3 separate regions of the Homo sapiens genome follow, and regions 1 and 3 are each linked to region 2. The links are contacts of gene promoters, found by promoter capture Hi-C in blood cells and fetal thymus (Javierre and others, 2016). All regions are on one chromosome and are shown on one strand. The core of a region is centred on a gene start or on the middle of the fragment in contact, and the rest is flanking DNA. Distances in the headings are between cores, read along the strand shown. Region 1 holds the start of ABCC8 (ATP binding cassette subfamily C member 8). Region 2 holds the start of PIK3C2A (phosphatidylinositol-4-phosphate 3-kinase catalytic subunit type 2 alpha). Region 3 holds the start of OTOG (otogelin).

Region 1 (2,700 bases), core at 161-2,660, 270 kb after region 2:
GCTGGTCTCGAACTCCTGGACTCAAGCAGTCTTCCTGTCACAGCCCACCAAAATGCTGAGATTACAGATGTAAGCCACTGTGCCCTGCCAAGGTACCCCATTATACATACTAACTTCTTGTGTGACAAGTCATCAGGTTAATAAACCGTTTGGCTGAGAACAGAAGTGTAAATGCTGTTCTTTTTTGATTTTTGATGCACATATGAGCACATATTTTGTATGTTTTATTTCTATTTCTATCTAACTGTCTTTGTTAATAACTAGCAACTCTGCTTCTGCAGCAACCTCTTGTAAATCTAATTTTGTGACAATCTTTCCTTTCTTCCCCAAAGCTGTATATGAATTTTAAGATTTGCTTGTTTTCTTAAAGTGAATGAACACGTTTTGGGGATGCAGGGGACACCCTATGAGTTGATAGACTTGACTGGTCTGGAAGAGTCAAGGTCTTGGAGAGAGATGGGGGGGACCTCAGTGGAGAGGCACGCACGATTGTCCCGGCCGTGGCGCCCAACTTTGCAAGCAAGGGCGCCGGGGTCGCTGCGTCGGCGAGTCGGAGCTACTTTGCGCAGAGCCTGAGAAGTTGCGCTCTGGAGACACATGCCCGGGTGGGGTGGCGGGGGAAGGGAATCCAAGTCCCTAGCTCTCGCCTCTCCTCGCCCAGGGCGCGGGCCTGGGACTGTCAGAGATCACGGACCACTGCGCGGCTCAGCCCGGTGAAAGCATAGGGGTTAGCTGGGCCTCCATCCCAGACTCCAAAGCACAGGCTTCCCTCTTCCCTAGGCCCAGCTGCGGCTGACAGGGAGGCTGCCTTGCGGGAGGGGTGACCCGGCTCCCTAAGCTGCGCCACGGAGGGTGAGGCCCGACCCCTCTCCAGTTTCCCACTGCGTGCTGAGACCTCCTCTTTCCCTTTTCCCCATCCCAGCTCTTGGCCCTGCAGAAGCAAAACTTGGTGATCCCATGGGTCACAAACGTCCGCTGTGTTTGGCGCGGGATCGGGGGCACCGGGGGAGTGAAGGGATGAGCTGGTGTGCGAGTGCGGGGACCGGCGGGCAGGACACAGGGCAGGGGACCCCGGGAACGAGGCGGACGGCGGTCGCGGGCCGGAAGGGGACGCCGAGCGGTGCGGCGCGCAGCGCCTCCTCCTCCCTCCCTGCTCTCCCGTCCCCTCCTCCGCGGCTCGCTGCGCGCACTCACCAATGAAGAGGATGGGGAAGGTGATGAAGAGTAGGAAGACGTGCGGCACCACGTTGAGCGCGTCCACAAAGCAGCCGTTGTTGAGGACCCCCTGGTCCACCCGGTAGGCGGCCGAGTGGTTCTCGCTGCCGCAGAAGGCCAGGGGCATGGCGGCGCGGGCGCGGGCTGGGCTCGGGCTCAGCTGGCTCCGCTGGCTCCGCGCGCCTGCCGCGCCTCTGTCCCTTGCAGCTCCGCCGCCCGGCCCGGCCGTCAGGCCCCCGCCCCCCGGGCCCCGCCCAGCCCCGCTGGCCTCCCCCTCCCTCACCCCGCCCTGCTCCACCACCTGCGGGGCCGGGGGGCGGCGAGGAACCCGACCGGCCCTGCTACGCTTGCGCCCACCTTCCAGATGTGGAGGCGCGTGCTCCCAGATGTTGCCGGGGTGGCTTCGTGAGTGCCCTGATGCACGCGTGCGCTGGGGGAGAGGGGAAAGGCAGGCTAAGATGGGGAGTGGGGTGTGGGCACACTGGAGTCTGGGTGGGAAAGGAGGGTGGGGCGTGCAGAAGAGGAGAGAAGGGCCCGCAAGGCCTGGAGTGGGCGGGTTCAGGGTCCCGAGTGTGAGTTCACCTGGGCGTGGTGCGGATGGATGTAGAGAGCCGAGGGATGGCGCAAGTCTCCACCCAACATGGATGAGAAAAGTGGGGCAGAACGTTACCTTGTGGTGGTGGTGGTGGTGGGGTGGGGCTTGGACATTTTCAAAAGTGGTCCCAGGTGGGGCACTCCTAGGTACTGCTTTACAGCGTATCTGGCACTTTCACACAAGGGATGTCCCAGAACTCTTGCTAAGTACAGGTTCTAATCGCTTCCAATTTTCTGATGGGGAAACCCAAGCTGCGAGGGAGCTGAAGGGAGGCCAGTAACATGACTTCCCCCAAGGTCTCAGTGCCAGCAAGCAGGGAAGCATAGCTTGAACCCAGCTCCTCAGGTCCCCCGTCCCCACCCCCATCATTTGTACTCATGCCTCTGGTACATGACAACCTTACAGCGACTGGCAGACCAATGGGTAGAATGGGTGACAGCCCCAGGCTGATAAAGAGGAGTTTAAGAAACGCATCTGGCCAGATGGATGTGAGGCAGTGGAGAGGGACTGAAATTCTTAACCTCACCTGGGACAGGCTTAACAGTTGGAGGACACCGTGCAATTGTAAAGACAACATTATGTCTTCCTATACGTTTTGGAGAGATTCTCACAAGACTGTGGCCCAAAGAAGTTTATATTGTATGTAGAAAGAACAGAAGATGGGATTTGGGGGTTAGATTTAAGGAGAACTTTCCTAGTTAGGGTATGAAGCATAAATGCACATGTTCTTAGGAACAGTCAGGGGAACACAAAAGAAAGACCCCTTCAGCCCCTTTGCCTACAAGCTTCACTGAGCCTGCCCTGAGGCTGCTGAGCCTGGTGAGCCTCTCCAGCACGCTGTCAGCAAGGCCGAGGCTCTGCCCAGGCCCTGAGGCAGAGGGCAGATGGGG
Region 2 (2,700 bases), core at 189-2,688:
GTAGACCAGCCTGGGCGACACAGTGAGACCCCATGTCAATTAAAAAAAAAAAAAAGAGCACCAACCCCAACTATGGCAGAGCTGCTAAAGGAGTCTCTTGTGGAGACTTGAACCACAAGCCAAGGAGGCAAAGGTACAAAGTCTCTCCTGGAATTAGTTCCTGGACTTCTGTGCAGCCTTCCCTCTTTCTACTATGTCTTCACCGTTCCCCTACAAACAGCTTTCTTCTTCTTGCATCTCTTATATGCTGTGGCCTTTGATGCTACAATAGATTTAAAAATTTTCCCAACAGAGCTTTTCTGCCTGAAACCCACCAGGAAAGATTTCAGGACATTCTTTAATAACTAATCTTGTTCAAAGAGGCAGGCCTCCTTCGTTTCACTTAATTCAAACCCCCACTGTTCAAAATAAGAATATAATTATAACCTCAATTTCTATCGGGCCAGTATAGGAAAAGAACTACAACAGGCTCTCTCTTCCACGTTATGTCCAGACTTTTTTCCTTAGTTTCTCCTTCCTCATTTCCCTCCTCAATCCCTCCTCCCCCAAAAAATAATTCCACAGCTAGAGAATGTCGTTTTTAAAGCCAGAAATTCAGTGAGGAAAATAAGTATGTGCCTTTTTCTTCAATTATTTATGATTCCTCCGTCACTCAGGAAGAGTTAAGCTAGTATTTTTTAATCTGACCGCTCTCTCAGAAGGATGATGCGCTAAATACACACTGAAAGAATAGTGTTCCCAAAGCAAGTGGATTCGCGGCTAAAGGCAACGCGGTGGGAGTGGGGGGTCCGGGAAGAAGAAAAAGTATCCTTGGCCCCCAGAGCCAGAGATGGGACAGGAGGTGAAAGAAGGGGCCGTCACTGAGAAGTACAACACACACACTCGCCAGAACTAACAATCTGCCAAGAAAATAGGACCGGCCACTGCGGCTCCAGCCCGGTCCCGCGGGACAAGGCGGGGGAGGGGGGCCGGCGGCCGGGGGGCCTGCCCTCCTTCTGTGGGACAAAACTAACTCCCTGGCGCACCTCCGCTCCCGAGAAGAGGGGCCTGGTGGGGACGCGGGCTCCTCGCACCTCCAGCGCAGCACTTGCTCACGGCCTGGGTGGAAGCAAGGCCCGGAGGGAGGGGGGAGTCGGGCTGGGCAACGCCAAGAGCACGGGATGGAGGGTCAGACGCGGGCACCCAAGGCACTGGGGGCCGCGACAAGAGACCCTTCCAGCCCGGGAACCCCGGGGCCCCTCTCCACCCTTGCAGAGCAGGACCCCGAATATCGTCCCCAGCCGCACCGACCGCTCCTCACCTCAAGCTGCCTGAGCCTCCGCCTCTACCACAACCTGAGCCGCCGAAGCCGCCACAGTCCGAGCCATTTTTCCCCTCAGCTGGCTCAGCCGCCGCCGAAAGCTTCGGCCGACTCCACAGCCAGCCAAGCGCAGCACGTCACTTCCGGACAGGGAAGCACCGCCTTCCCCGCCCGGACTTGTTGCGAATTGGCTGGCGCGGACGGCCTACCTGAGCTGGCGGGCGGGGCTTGGACGCTGCCGGGGTGGCGTGAGCAAGGGAGCTGGGGCGCTGGGGCGCACGGGCCCGGGGGACCAGGGTCTGGCTCTCTCCCGAGGAATGCTGAGCAGGCTCTGGACGCCTCTCCGTGCACACCCCAGACCTGGGGAGGGGAGCTCTCCGGACACCCCAGCTGGCCGCCCCTCGGGCCCTGAGTCCGAAGACCCGCTAAACAGGGCCCGGGCACTGAAGTACCCTATTGTTCTCATCCCCTCTCCCGGGACCCCGCACCCTCCTCCATCTAGGCTGAGGTTCCCAGATTTGTGTCTTGGCCCCTGGCGGCGCCGAGATTACTTTGTGATTGGAAGACTGAAAGGAACAGGCAAGACTTAAACTCGTCCACTCCAACCAGTATTTACCGAGGCCTCACGGTGGGTCAGGTGGTATACGGTGGGTAATTAGTAGCCTATCACGTGGTTTCTGTAAAATGCTTGATAGCACGTAAAACGCTTTCAGGTCGGCGTCTCGTTTCATCCTCACAACAGCCAGGTAAGGAAGATAACCCCCTGATAATAACTCACAGCCAGACGGCTCTTTCTACATTACAAAGTATTTTCACATGCAACCTCCATAATAATATATTCTTATTGAGAATTTAATGAGATTATGCTTGTAAAGCGTTTGGTCCTCACGTGTTAGATCTAAAAATTACGTAACCATGGGAAGATATAGGAAAATTATCCCCATTTACAGATGGGGCTTCTGGGGCACAAAGATGTTAAGGGGAGAGGAACGATTCCATAGCGTTTTACAACAAGATTGTCTTTTAAGCAGTAGGAGAAGGGGGTCCACACCATCCAGACGTTCACAATCTGATGTGGCAGACTGATTTAGGCTGCATTTCTCAGCCTAAACTAAAAATTATCAGCCTATATGATATACGCATAATTAGAAGGCTCTAAGAGAAGTTGAACTTTCAGCAAATAACTGGAAAGAAAGAAATTGGCCTGATTTGGCAGGGACGGGGGTTGGCGAAAGGGGGCTAGGGCAATGGGGAATGTGGAGTGGATGAATCCCTCATAGCGCTGTAATAAACATGCCTGCACCTCCGCAGGGATGGTAAAATTGGATGGAGTTTCTATTCTATGGGGAATTCTAGAAACAAATGTGATTATTTCTTACGGCTGTAGCTACTGGCTGTTG
Region 3 (2,700 bases), core at 127-2,626, 340 kb after region 2:
ATTAACTATTAAGTCAGCGATAAAATGGAAAGACTTGTGGGATTTTTGAATGGTCCAGAAAAGGCCACACAAAATGCATTCCCCTCCGACTTACTTCATTGATTCTCTACATTGGAAAAGAATGTCATATGGCTGTTTATTTTGTATTTAGAATCCTGGCAGAGGTGAATGAATGTCCTTATCCAGGGGAATGCTGTTCACCTGCCACACCAATCCTTATTTTACATTGGCCATTACCCCCACAGACTCCCTCCACCTTAAAATGCCCCCTGCTTTGTTTTGAGAATAGCATTGAGACCTGGTTCTCCTCTCTCATGAATTTTTGTTTCAAGCTTCCTTGGAGACAATCAGTCTTTGCCTGTTCCTTAACCAGCATTCCTTAAGGCTCCATCCTTAGCTCTTTCCTCTTCATCTTCCTATCTGTGCCCCCAGCTTCCTCCTGTGTGAAGATAGCTGTGTTTGCTTTATTTACCACTATATGCCTAGAACAGTGCATGGCATGGAATCAATGCCAAACAAATTTGTTGAGTGAATGAATGAATGAATGAATGAATGAATGCATCTCAAATCTATACCCTTGCCTAGAAGTCTACTGGGGCCAATACCACCACGACCACCACCACCACCATCATCATCATCCTCTGTAAGACCTAGCATCTAGTTGGTGTTCCCTAAGTGATGACGAAGTGAATGATGTACAGATTCCCCAGGTGCTCAGTCCCATGTTTTTGCCATTTTAAAATTCCTCCTGGGCAGACAGTGGACCTCGTTCACACATATAAAGTTGTTTTGTCAAAGTTTGGCCTTGATGGTGGCAATAACATAGGAGTATGAAACACTTTTATTATTCAATCGTCATTTCCTGAGCTCGGGCAGGAGCTGGTGCTGGGCATTCAGAGGACTAAGGCATGATCCATTCCCTAGAGGTGCTCAAAACTGGTCATAGGATACGGATGTGGAGACCCAGGTGGAAGCTGAGGTGGGGCATGGTGAGAACATAGGCTAGGACTCTGCAGGCTCTGTTATTGACCACTGATCCCTGAGTGGCATGTCCCAGGGCCTCAGCATGGCCCTCTGTAAAAGGAGAGGATAGGGCCAGACTCATACCTGCATCTTGCGTCTCTGGTATTGGGCTTCCAGGACCCAGGTAAGGGGAGCTGGAGGTTGCATAGGCTGCCTCTATGCTTCCCTAGACAATTTAGGGCTGAGTAATCTGAATCCAGCCTCCCCTGGGGAGGTGTGGCCACAGGCCAAGAAAAGCAGAGGCTAGGCTATGGACAGGCGCCTAAATTATGGTAATAAGCTGGGTACTCCTGTCACTCTAGTTCGGGGAGGAGCTGAGAGCCTGGGAGGAGGGGCTGAGGGAGCCCTGGGGCATGAGAACAAGAGGGACCTCGGCTGCGGAGTGGAGGTGTGACCCTGCCTTAGCCCGGGGAGGCACCTCGGGAGGCTGGCCCTGCGCTCAAGTCCTCCGGTCCCCTCGTGTCCCTATGGGAGTCCTGGCGTCTGCGCTCTGCTGGCTGCTTTGTGTCTGGCTGCCCTGGGGTGAGCAGGCAGCCGAGTCCCTGCGGGTGCAGCGCCTCGGTGAGAGGGTTGTGGACTCAGGGAGGTCGGGGGCTCGAGGAATGAGAAACGTTAAAGGAATGAGGAATGGGCCCGCGCAGGTTGGAGAGAGGGAGGAAAGAGAGGTTTGAGGGAGAGCAGAGGGACACCCAGGAGGAGCAGTCAGGGGAGGAGGGACCCCGAAGCCAACAGAGGCAGGCCTATGACCGCGGGGGAAAGAGTCCAAAGTTAGGCTGGGTGGAAGAGACCCGAGGTGGGGAACTAGAGAGAGCTGGGGGCCAAAGACTGAGAGTAAACAGGGAGATCCTGGCTGGAGAAGGGTCATCAGGAAGGGAGAGAAAGGATTTGAGAAGGCTGCAGGGAGGGAGAATGGGGGAATGCTCAGTGGCGTGGGAGAGGCTTTCTAGCAGTGGGGGCCAGGTGGTGGGAGGCCCCAGTAAAGACAAGCACAATTTGAGTGGAGAATAATCCCCCTCCCCAGCCGCAGCACCCGTTCTGTGGGGCAGTGCAGAGCCACAGCCAGAGCCAGCCGGGCAACCCAGGTGAGTAGGTGTGAGCTGTGGCGGCCCCACCCACAGCTCCCATCCGTATTTCTGGCATCAGCGACCCCAGGGCTTTAGCACTTAGGGTGGGATAGGCCAGGGGACTGCGGGGAGGCATAACCCATCCTAGCCCCCCATCCATGCCAGACTCGTGTTTCCTCCAGCAGCAGCCACCAGGAGGCGACCCTTGCCATGGGGGACAAGGCTACAGTCGTGGGAGGCCAGGTAAGGGAGGTCTTGGGAGGGGGCTTCATTGAGCAGGAGCTCATGTCTATCTGGATCTGAGGCTGGCAGGGAGCTCTGTAGGTTACAGGAGGGGTCTCTGGAGTTGTTCAGAAAGGAACAAGCAGATTCCTGGTATGTGTCTGAGGTGTGCAAGTTCATAAAACCCTTCTATTCTTTTTAATCTCTTGGGGGTCTATAGTCCACTCTTTTTTTTTTTTTTTTTTTTTTTTTTTTTTTTTTTTTTAGGAGAGGTGGGCACCAGGGCTCTTTCAGGAGAGAGCTGAGCTCTCCCTTCTGGCAGGTAAAAGTAGAAAGATGGACGTTTAGAAGAATGGAGTTCTCTTTTCCCTGACTGGCCTGCGAAGGCCCT

What was found. The method cuts DNA at HindIII sites, captures the fragments that hold promoters and counts their contacts. A CHiCAGO score of 5 or more calls a contact.
Region 1: the fragment with the promoter of ABCC8 here is called in contact with the fragment with the promoter of PIK3C2A in region 2 in 16 of 17 cell types (M0 macrophages, fetal thymus, M1 macrophages and 13 more); the score reaches 26.5 in M0 macrophages.
Region 3: a contact is called between the fragment with the promoter of OTOG here and the fragment with the promoter of PIK3C2A in region 2, in 16 of 17 cell types (M0 macrophages, total CD4 T cells, M1 macrophages and 13 more). The highest score is 34.5, in M0 macrophages.

Annotation. Positions count from the first base shown.
Region 1 is chr11:17,475,435-17,478,134 of GRCh38, forward strand. ABCC8 (ATP binding cassette subfamily C member 8) reads right to left here and starts at 1,411. Exons shown (of 39, transcript NM_000352.6): 1 at 1,195-1,411. The coding sequence starts at 1,342. It overlaps LOC124902641 (a long non-coding RNA gene), which reads left to right and starts at 1,217. Exons shown (of 2, transcript XR_007062609.1): 1 at 1,217-1,297. RefSeq lists an enhancer at 67-623. The HindIII fragment of the contact is 8,626 bases long and covers 1-2,593 here.
Region 2 is chr11:17,206,548-17,209,247 of GRCh38, forward strand. It overlaps PIK3C2A (phosphatidylinositol-4-phosphate 3-kinase catalytic subunit type 2 alpha), which reads right to left and starts at 1,439. Exons shown (of 33, transcript NM_002645.4): 1 at 1,301-1,439. RefSeq lists enhancers at 706-1,229, 1,230-1,752, 1,258-1,367 and silencers at 898-1,157, 1,508-1,587. The HindIII fragment of the contact is 7,601 bases long and covers 1,400-2,700 here.
Region 3 is chr11:17,545,883-17,548,582 of GRCh38, forward strand. OTOG (otogelin) reads left to right here and starts at 1,377. Exons shown (of 56, transcript NM_001292063.2): 1 at 1,377-1,584; 2 at 2,045-2,105; 3 at 2,270-2,330. The coding sequence starts at 1,491. The HindIII fragment of the contact is 7,774 bases long and covers 331-2,700 here.